Linked DNA regions of Homo sapiens: all the other regions are linked to region 2. Evidence: promoter capture Hi-C in human tissues and cell types (Jung and others, 2019). All regions are on one chromosome and are shown on one strand. Each heading gives the region's core, a stretch centred on a gene start or on the middle of the fragment in contact. The rest is flanking DNA. Distances are from core to core; before and after follow the strand shown.

What was found. The method cuts DNA at HindIII sites, captures the fragments that hold promoters and counts their contacts. A contact is called where the count stands out against the background at its distance.
Region 1: a fragment that was not itself captured here is called in contact with the fragment with the promoter of CBX1 in region 2 in 2 of the 25 tissues and cell types used here (IMR-90 fibroblasts and mesenchymal stem cells).
Region 3: a contact is called between a fragment that was not itself captured here and the fragment with the promoter of CBX1 in region 2, in 1 of the 25 tissues and cell types used here (mesendoderm cells).

What each region holds. Positions count from the first base shown.
Region 1 is chr17:48,395,067-48,398,780 of GRCh38, reverse strand. It overlaps SKAP1 (src kinase associated phosphoprotein 1), which reads left to right. Exons shown (of 13, transcript NM_003726.4): 2 at 1,996-2,101. Among named protein-coding and RNA genes, the nearest start is that of SKAP1, 33 kb to the left of the region's middle. The HindIII fragment of the contact is 3,124 bases long and covers 1-3,111 here.
Region 2 is chr17:48,099,338-48,102,979 of GRCh38, reverse strand. It overlaps CBX1 (chromobox 1), which reads left to right and starts at 1,502. Exons shown (of 5, transcript NM_001127228.2): 1 at 1,502-1,712. RefSeq lists enhancers at 1,084-1,343, 1,170-1,769 and a silencer at 1,714-1,763. The HindIII fragment of the contact is 10,755 bases long and covers 1-3,642 here.
Region 3 is chr17:48,368,884-48,372,532 of GRCh38, reverse strand. The region is part of intron 2 of SKAP1 (src kinase associated phosphoprotein 1); the gene reads left to right. Among named protein-coding and RNA genes, the nearest start is that of SKAP1, 60 kb to the left of the region's middle. The HindIII fragment of the contact is 6,067 bases long and covers 1-3,649 here.

The sequences.
Region 1 (3,714 bases), core at 300-2,799, 300 kb before region 2:
CAAAGTGCTGGGATTACAGGCGTGAGCCACCCGCCTTGGCCTCCCAAAGTGCTGAGATTACAGGCGTGAGCCACCACGCCCGGCCTGGCGTTGTTAAATGACGTGAATATAAAACAAATTTTTAGGTGTGCTTATCCAACTATATAAATTCATAGCAATATTTTGATAGTATGTATCAGGGGTCCCCAACCTTTTTGGCACTGGGGACTGGTTTCATGGAAGACAATTTTTCCATGGACCGGGGGTGGGGGGATGGTTTGGCGATGATTAAAGAGCATTAGATTTATTATGCACTTTATTTCTATTATGATTACATTGTAATATATAATGAAAAAATTATACAACTCACCATAATGTAGAATCAGTGGGAGGCTTGAGCTTGTTTTTCTGCAACTAGATGGTCCCATCTGGGAGTGACAGGAGTCAGTGACAGATCGTCAGGCATTAATTCTCATAAGGAGCACACAACCTAGATCCCTCACATACACAGTTCACAATAGGGTTTGTGCTCCTATAAGGATCTAATGCTGCCACTGATCTGACAGGAGCTGGAGCTCAGGTGGTAATGCAAGTGATGGGGACCAGCTGTAAATACAGATGAAGCTTCACTTGCTCATCTGCTGCTCACCTCCTGCCATGTGGCCCTTTCTTTAAAATTTCATAATTATCAGATCACTGAGGAAATAAAGGTTCCTGTGTGTGGCCCAGGGGTTGGGGACTCCTGATATATATGATACAGTTTCATATTACACGCACAATTTTTGGAGGTGGAAAATTTTAACTATATTATTTATACGCTTTTGGGGGATGACAAACCTTTTGTGCAGAATAAAATGTGTAGCCAGTGTTTCTGGCAGTTGTAATCATTATCAATGTATTTTGTCTTTGAAAATTTGTAGAACCACCCCCCCTCTGCAATTTCTTCCTTCAACATAACATGATTTGTTTCATATTATGTATTTCTATCATGTCCCTATTTTATAATATATGTTCACATTAATTGCAGTTCCCTTCTCTTGGAGACATTTGTCTTTCTCATGTGGGTTCCTTCACTTGGTTGTATTGTCATTTTCATTGATGATGCATCTGCTAATTAATATTTCTTTGAATGCCTGCCCTTTTGTTCTTGATTTTTGCAGTTCAGCTCTATTTTTTATTTCGGCTCTATTTATTGGTATTTCTTTCTAGCTTCTATTGGCCTGTGACCTTCTGTGACTTATTTATAATATTACATGTTTATGAAATTGACAGTCCAGGCCGGGCGCGGTGGCTCACGCCTGTAATCCCAGCAGTTGGGGAGGCCGAGGCAGGCTGATTGTCTGAGCTCAGGAGTTCGAAACCAGCCTGGGCAACATGATGAAAACCCATCTCTACTAAAATACGAAAAATTAGCCGGGCTTGGCGGCATGCGCCTGTAGTCCCAGCTACTCAGGAGGCTGAAGCAGGAGAATCACTTGAACTTGGGAGGTGAAGGTTGCAGTGAGCCAAGATGACGCCACTGCACTCCAACCTGGGCAACAGAGTGAGACTCCATCCCCCCCCTAAAAGAAAGAAAGAAATTTACAGTCCATTCTCTGCCATCAGTAATAATTAATATGTAAATGTTTACTTAAAATGATTTAGAAAATAGTTATTTCTTATGGCTAATATATGTCATAGTTTTCTAAATTCATAGCAAGGTCTTGGATTATTAGAACATGTTACCTACAGGTATATATAAAATTTTAGTTATTATTTATTCTGGTAACATATACAAAATATAAATTTTACCATCTTAACTATTATAAAGTATACAGTTCTGTGGCATTAAGCACATTCACATTGTGCCACAACTATAAAGTTTTTTTTTTTTTATTATACTTTAAGTTTTAGGGTACATGTGCACATTGTGCAGGTTAGTTACATATGTATACATGTGCCATTTCTTAATCCTTCTGATTTTCCTTTCTCCCTTAGTACATCTTTTCTGTTTTATCAACTTTCCTTTTCTTTTAGATGCTGAAGAGTTTCTGGCAGAAGGTTTGCGGAATGAGAACCTCAGCGCTGTTGCAAGGGATCACAGAGACCATATTCTACGGGGCTTTCAGCAAATCAAAGCCAGGTTTGTATAAACTGGTTCCATTAATCTTCTTCATAAGCTTTAAAACAATTTATAATCAGTAAAATAAAGTCACAAGGTAAGACATACCTATCATAGTTCTTTATACTTGGCAGAAACTTAATAAATATTTACTGAATTGAACTGGAGGCAGGCAAGCATAGTTAGTGTAGTTTACCAAAATAAAAATGTTTTGATAATTATGTATGTATCTTGAGGTAATTATTCTGCTTTTAGCTTTGGATTTTTATGTTAGCCTTTATTGACCACTTTTGCATTTAACTAAAAAAATGGTGAAAGCTAAACATTTATGCTTGTCCAAATTATTAACGAGAAAGTGTTAGGCAGTATGAGATAATGTTCATTATGATTTTTGGTACTGATTTTACTTCCACATCTCCTTACCTCATAGAAAACTTAAATGAGACTTATCAAGTTGATTCTTTGACTACATTGGGATGTTTTATTCCTGGACTGGGTTGAAATATTATGTCATTTTTTAAAAATAAGAGGCCCTGATGTAATTTGTGCATTTTAGAATGTGAGCATCTGAGAGATGCAAACACTTGCTTGGGGAAAAAATAAAAATTTTCCTTTATAATATATTTTCTGACCACCTATTGCTTGAAATGGGTAACTGAATGAGAACAAGGGATAAGTGAGTGTTCCTTTAGCCTTTTCAAACCTGGTGGCAATGTGATTCAGAATGTTTAAACTGAATATTCTTAGAAAAGGAAGAGCATCTGCAGGGTTATGGTTGGGATTTAATTTGCGTGGCTGACAGTTCTTAGTATCTGCTCTAAAAACCTCATTGAAACTCCATAGAAGCAGAGAATTTTATCCTTCGGAAGGGCACAGCCAGAATCTATTCCATTCAGGAATGTGAGAGAACCTCATGAGATGCCCTGCTGGATCTTAATCGATCTTTCCTGCTGGCTAATTAAGCATCACTTTTACTCAGCAACTGGGGACTGTGTAATTATCAGCCTGGGTTGCCCTGAATAATTGAAACAAACAGAATGCAAAAGATGGGAGTTTTTTGAAAAAGTGGGAATATCTATAATTTTTGGTAGGTTGAAAGAGTGTTTAAAACAAAGTTCTCCATAATGTTATTTTATTAATAGATAAGTTTAGGCTTAGTTACATACCTGGAGACTTAGTAACCTATAGTTTTTTTTAATTTCACAAGTTTGCCTTTGTATTTTATGATTACTCTAAGGGTGGCTTGCGGAATAAAGGTGGAATTATTTTAAATTGGGAGAGGAATGCCCTAAATATAATGGTGTATTTGGTGATTCTGTTGGTATAAATCTCTGATAAGGAATGCAAAAATACTTTTACTGCAGCTGTGGGTACAAATACACAATGAGGAGGAATTCTTTCCTGTATTTGTACCACAGCATTGAGAAAGGACTAAATTTCAATCTTAAGTTGGTAATAAAAGGCAAATTACGGTAACTCATTACTGTCAGCTGCATATTATTATACTTCTTAATCCTCTTTTAAAATACATACACACATGCACACACATGCATGAACACACACGCAAGCTGAATTTGTCATGGGATAGAGTCAGTTTCTTGTTCTCAAATTCTTGTTCTCAAAGAACTTTGTGT
Region 2 (3,642 bases), core at 253-2,752:
AAGCCCTTTTAACTAAACTCTATTATGATATTGCTGGGCTGGGTTTTTCTTACATGACAGTTCTCCAGAGCCGTGAACAGTGCCTGCATCAGCAAAACTGTCTTATAAATGCAAACTCCTGCCCTGAACAGTGCCTGCATCAGCAAAACTGTCTTATAAATGCAAACTCTTGCCTTTTGGGGTAGAGTGCAATAGAGTTTCCCTCTTCCTCCTGATTAGAAGGATACTTTAAAATAAAAAAATAAAACTTTAGTTATATTGTGGCTTAAAAACATGTTTTTTTCCTAATTGTGTGTTTCCTTGGGATGATTGGGTGAAAGGTGCTGACGGAGATTAATGACACTGAAAAAGGTGAGCACAACTTACAATGAAAAAGAGGACATTTTTGTGGCGCAGCCAGTGAAAAGGGGGAAATTCAGGAAGCTATGAGAGGCCTATGGGGGGACCTAACCTACTCTAGGGAATCAGGGAAGACCTCAAAGGGGAAGTAATCTTAACACTGAACAGTATTTTTTTTTTTAGACGAAGTTTCGCTCTTGTTGCCCAGGCTGGAGTGCAATGGCGCGATCTCGGCTCACTGTAACCTCCACCTCCTGGGTTCAAGCGATTCTCCTCCCTCAGCCTCCCGAGTAGCTGGCACTACAGGCGCCCGCCACGACGCCCAGCTAATTTTTGTATTTTAGTAGAGATGGGGTTTCACCATGTTGGCCAGGCTGGTCTTGAAACCCTGACCTCAAGTGATCCACCCACCTCCGCCTCCCCAAGTGTTGGGATTATAGGCTTGAGCCACCGTGCCGGCGTGAGTAGGAATTTTACAGAGATTTGAGGAGGCAGAGATTGAGGACTAAGAAATCATTGGAAATTTGAGGCAGCGGCGATATGATAAAGTTCTGGTGAAGAATCTAAGATTCAAAAATTTTGAGGATGTGAATTACAGAACTGTCCAGAAGTGGTTGATTTTTTGGGGGCCAAGCATCAGGGGGCTCGCTTATAAAAATCATATGTTCTAATTTTTTTTTTTTTTTTTTTTTGAGATGGAGTCTCGCTCCATCGCCCAGGCTGGATCGCAGTGGCTGGATCTCGGCTCACTGCAAGCTCCGCCTCCCAAGTTCAAGCAATTCTTGTCTCAGCCTCCTGAGTAGCTGGGACTACAGGCACCTGCCACCACGCTCGGCTAATTTTTGCATTTTTAGTAGAGACAGGGTTTCACCTTGTTGGTAAGACTGGTCTCGAACCCCTGACCTCAGGTGATCCACCCGCCTCGGCCTCCCAAAGTGCTGGGATGACAGGCGTGAGCGACTGCCCCTGGCCCATATGTTCTAATATTCTAGGTTACAACGCTCTACGCTGCAATCTCTCCACCGTTACAGTTTAAAAACTATAAGTCCCTACCACCCTCGCCTACTGTGCGTGCGCGGCGCGCGGCGCTTCGGGCCTTGTAGTCTTGGACAGACCCCCGAGGCCCATGGTGCCGTGCGGCGGGTCGTTGCGCCTGCGCGGTGCGAGCGGCGGGCAGCGCAGACTGCGAGGCTCTTTTGTTCGGCTGAGGGGAGGGCCGTTGGCCGGGGCCTGCGGTACGCCGCTTCAGTGAGGGACGCCACTGCGGCCACCCGGCTTGCTGCCTTCCTGGGCGCCACTCCCCCAGGCGACCCGACGCGACGCGCCAGCAGCGCAGCACCGATTCCTCTCGGGCTCTTGGGCGCTGCTCTGAGGTGAGGAGCCCGCTGGAGGCGGGAGAGCTGGGGGAGGGGGCGCGGCGGCGGCGGCGGCGGGAGCCCTGCGTGAGGGAACGCGCTTTCGAGGCGGAGGTTAGGAGCGGGGAGCGCGCCCGGGTCCAGCGTCCTGCTTCTCCGCTTCCCGCGCTGAGCTCTTCGCCTGTCGCTGAGGCGTCGGTGCCAGCTGCGTGAAGGATGGAGAGGGCGGGGCGCGAATCCTGAGCCAGAGACTGAGTGCTTGGGGGTGGGCCGAGCACTTGGGGGCCGCTCTTCGGGGCCCGGGTGGTCTGGAACAATGTTGCTTGGCTGGGCGGCTGCGGGATAGGGCGGAAGGGGACAGGCTTGAGGCTTGGATAGGCGTGAGGAGGCGCATACGACCGCACAACCCGAGGTTTGTAACTGTATTCGGAAGACGCCGGGTCCGGCTGGGACTGCCAGAGGAACCTGGCTTTGCAGGACTACGGAGGAGTAACGTCGAGTGAATTGGAAGAGGGCCCAGGGCCGCACAAGGTGTGCTGATTGGAGGAGGAGATGTGTGGAATAAATTGGGAAAGGGGACACGGAGGGGGAGGGGCAGGCGTTTGCTGGGCCTGACTCTGGAAGGGGAGGAGCTGTTAGGATAAGTAGGGCGGAGATCCCGAGAATATTTCTATAAGGTATGTAAGAAAAAAGGGGAAAGCAGGCCGCCCTTGCATCCTGATGGGTCCTTACAGTGGGGAGGCTGTAAGAATAATGTGCGAAGAAAGGATGGAATACGCTTTTTTCAGTTTTCCAGGTTTCCTACTACCTTCACTCCATGATTCCTTTGGGGAGTTAAAAAAGTCCAAGTGCAGTTCTTGCTTTGATTCAAAATTAGTTCCGTACGTTTTTGTGTGGGATCGTAACTGGTCTCACAAAGGTGATGAAATTGTAAAAATATGTAGATGAGTTAATAGTTGAGGAACGGCGTGAGGTAGTGAGAGATTGTGAGATCGTGTGAGGTGCGAGAAATTGGGAGACATAGGAAAATTATGTGAGATTGTGAGGTAATATTTGTTTCGTGGGCCCTTCTGTTTTTAGCCAGCTTTTCCTTGTTGGAAAATTTGAATAGAGTGAGCTATATTTTACCTCTTTTTTTTTTTTTTTTTGAGAAGAGTCTTCCTCTGTTGCCCAGGCTGGAGTGCAGTGGTGCGATCTTGGCTCACTGCAACCTCCACCTCCCGGATTCATGCGATTCTCTTGCCTCAGCCTCCCGACTAGCTGGGATTACAGGCACACGCCACCACGCCCGGCTAATTTTTGTATTTTTAGTAGAGACGGGGTTTCACCGTACTGGTCACGCTGGTCTCGAACTCCTGACCTCGTGATCCTCCCGCGTCGGCCTCCCAAAGTGCTGGGATTATAGGCGTGAGCCACTGCGCCTGGCCATATTTTACCTCTTTTTCAAAGTTTCAAATGAGGGTTTTTCATAAATTGGTGTTACATTTAGACGTGTTGGTTTAACGCAATTGAGGTGGAATTTACAAAAAGTTCAGCTATAATCAGTTATATACTAGAACCCCTAGCCCAGGGTAAAGTAGCCTCCTCAATTGTGTTAAGAGTCACATCAGCAGTTTGGAAAGATTGTGAAAGGTCCAAGGCTTTGGAATAGATTCAGGAATACAATGGGGAAATTAATGCCGGTGTTCCTCCCTAGGTGCCTTATAGACTTTTATATGAAAGTGGTGTGATTGAAAAGCACTTGTATTGAAACCGGTGGCACCTTAATGAAGCTTCACGGGAGTGGAGGACCTGAAGTCGTTTACGGTTTTCCCTGTGGTGATATTTTTCTTCAATGGCTGCTGTATCCTAAATTGTTTCTCATTAAAAAAATAAATAGTAGGGTCGGGCGCAGTGGCTCAAGCCTGTCATCCCAGCACTTTGGGAGTCTGAGGTGGGCGGATCATGA
Region 3 (3,649 bases), core at 948-3,447, 270 kb before region 2:
AGGAGTTCGAGACCAGCCTAACCAACATGGAGAAACCCCTGTCTACTAAAAATACAAAATTAGCCGGGCATGGTGGCACATGACTGTAATCCCAGCTACTCGGGAGGCTGAGGCAGGAGAATCACTTGAACCTGGGAGGCGGAGGTTGCGGTGAGCCAAGACTGCACCATTACACTCCAGCCTGGGCAACAAGAGCAAAACTCCGTCTCAAAAATGAATAAATAAATAAAATAACACATGTAAAACATATACCTAGCACAGGGCCAGACGTGGTGGCTCATGCCTGTAATCCCAGCACTTTGGGAGGCTGAGGTGGGTAAATCACTTGAGGCAAGGAGCTCAAGACCAACCTTGCCAACATGGGAAAACCCCATCTCTACTAAAAGATAAAAAATTAACTGGGTATGGTGGCACACGTTTGTAATCCTAGCTACTCAGGAGGCTGAGGTACGAGAATCGCGTGAACCCAGGAGGCAGAGGTTGCAGTGAATGGAGATTGTGCACTGCACTCCAGCCTGGGTGACAGAGTGAGACTCTGTCTCAAAAAAATATATATGATGTATATGCATATGTATATGTGTATATCTAGCACAATGCCTAACATGTAAGTGCTAATAAATGTTAATCATTTTTTTATAATTGGGAAATAGAATTATTTTTCCTTTCTTTTTTTCTTTTTCTTTTCTTTTTTTTTTTGAGACAGGGTCTTGCTGTGTTACCCAGGCTGGAGTGCAGTGGTATGATCATGGCTCACTGCTGCCTCAACCTCACAGGCTCAAGGGATCCTCCCACTTCAGCCTCCCAAGTAGCTGGGACTACAGGCATGCATGCACCACCATGCCTGGCTTTTTTTTTTTTTTTTTTTTTTTTTTTTTTTTGTGGAGACAAGGTTTCACCATGTTACCCATGGCTGGTCCCGAACTCCTGGATCCAAGCAACCTACCTGCCTTGGCCTCCCAAAGTGCTGGGATTACAGGTGTGAGCCACCACACCTGACCAGTATTTCTAATAATATGAGGATAGCTACAGTTGTTTGTCTGACCTGTTTCATCAGGATCTATCTAATTAGCTGACTGAGGGAATAAAGCTCTGAGTACTTTAATCTCAATAACTATGTTCTTTGGTTAGCTCCATGGCCAAGAATCTGATATTCTCTCCCTTGCAATCTGTTGATTTAGATTCAGTAGCCCTATTTTCAGCAGAAGCCTGACAATGTTTTCTGTGAATTGTTTATTTTTTACAATTTCAACTTTTATTTTGGACACAGGGGGTACATGTGCAGGTTTGTTACAGGGTATATAGTGTGATGCTGAAGCTTGGGATACAAATGATCCCATCACCCAAATAGTGAGCATAGTACCCAATAATTTTTCAACTCCTACCCCTCTTTCTCTTTCCCCATCTCTATTAGTCCCTAGTATCTATTGCTCACACCTTTATGTTCATAAGTACCTAATGTTTAGCTCCCGCTTATAAGTGAGAACATGCAGTATTTGGTTTTCTGTTTCTGCATTAATTTGCTTAGAATAATGGCCTCCAGCTGCATCCATCTTGTTGAAAAGGACGTGATTTCATTGTTTATTATGGCTGCATCATAGTCCATGGTGTATATATGCCATATTTAAAAAAATCTAATCCACTGTTGATGGACACCTAGGTTGATTCCATGTCTTTGCTATTATGAATAGCACTGTGATGAACCTACAAGTGCATATGTCTTTTTGGTAGAATGATTTATTTTCTTTTGGATATATACCCAGTAATGGGATTACGGGGTTGAATGGTAGTTCTGTTTTAAGTTCTTTGATAAATCTCCAAACTGCTTTCCACAGCAGCTAAACTAATTTACATTCCCACCAACAATGTATAAGTGTTCCTTTTCTCCACAGCCTCACCAGCACCTGTTGTTTCTTGACTTCTTAATAATAACCATTCTGGCCAGGTGTGGTGGCTCACGCTTGTAATCCGAGCACTTTGGGTGGCTGAGGCGGGCTTGAGCTCAGCAGTTTGAGACCAGCCTAGGGCAACATTGAGAAACCTTGTCTCTACAAAAAATACAATAATTAGCCAGGTGTGATGGCACGTGCTGCTCCCAGCTACTGGGAGGCTGAGGTGGGGAGGATTGCTTGAGCCCAGGAAGTTGAGGCTGCAGTAAGCCATGATCACGCCACAGCACTCCAGCATAGGTGACAGGGCGAGACCCTGTTTCAAAAAAATATAATAATAATGATAGCCATTCTGATTGGTGTGAGATGGTTTTGATTTGCATTTCTCTGATGATTAGTAATGTTGAGCATTTTAATATATTCGTTGGCCACTTGTGTGTCTTCTCTTAAGAAGTGTCTGTTCATGCTTTTTGCAAACTTTTTAATGGCGTTGTTTTTTACTTGTCCGATTAAGTTCTTTATAGACTCTGTGAATTTGGGGTGGCAACCTAGAACTGTGTGTTTGCAGTATGAAAGATACTGAAATATATCTGTAGACGAATCATATCTATTATAGTCATCATTTCATCCATAGTACCTGGGCAAAGGGCTTGTCATAGAAGACATTCAATAAATATTGAATTGGTTGACTGAGTCACTGAATTATTTTAGAATAGTAAAATATCTTTAGAGAAAGACTCAGTTAATTTTGATGATTGTTTTAATTGTTAGATTATATTTTCAAGACTTTCCTCCTTAGTTTCTCATTAGAGGTCCTGTTCTGAAACTGATTGTTGGTGGTGGAAACTTGTCCACTTGTCCATTAGCTTTCTTATGATGGGTAAGTTATTTAATCCTTGATGCCTCAGTTTTCTTATTTAGAAAATGGGCATAATAATAGGGTTAGAGTGTGAGGAAATGGGTTAATGTAAGAAAAGTGCTTAGAGCAACATCCAACAAAATGTTCAATAAATCTTAGCATTGTTATTAGCACTACTGTTATTACTACTACAGTGACTGCTGCTTATCAAGATTCCCTCAATACTGTGGGTTCAATTTATTTGTACCTTTCTCCAAACTAAAGTTCATTTTTTATTTTTTACTTTTTTTTTTTTTTGAGAGAGGGTCTCACTCTGTTGCCCAGGCTGGAGTGCAGTGGTGCAATCATGGCTCACTGTAGCCTCAACCTCGCAGGCTCATGCAATCCTCCCACCTCAGCCTCCTCAGTAACTGGGACTGCAGGTGCACACCACCACACCCAGCTAATCTTTGTACTTTTTGTAGAGACAGGGTTTTGCCATGTTGTCTAGGCTGGACTCAAACTCCAGGGCTCAAGCAATATACCCACCTTGGCCTCTCTTAGTGCTTGGATTACAGGTGTGAGCCACTGCATCTGACCTAAAGTTCAGTTAAAACATCTTTATTTTATATTTATTTATTTATTTATTTATTTATTTATTTTGAGATGGAGTCTGTCTCTGTTGCCAAGGCTGGAGTGCATGGCGCGATCTCGGCTCACTGCAACCTCTGCCTCCTGAGTTCAAGTGATCCTCCTGCCTCCGACTCCCAAGTAGCTGAGATTACAGGCATGCGCCACTACGCCCAGCTAATTTTTTTGTATTTTTAGTAGAAACAGGGTTTCACCATGTTGGTCAGGCTGCTCTTGAACTTATGACCTCCGAAAGTGCTGGGATTACAGGCGCAAGCCACAGTGCCTGGCCAAA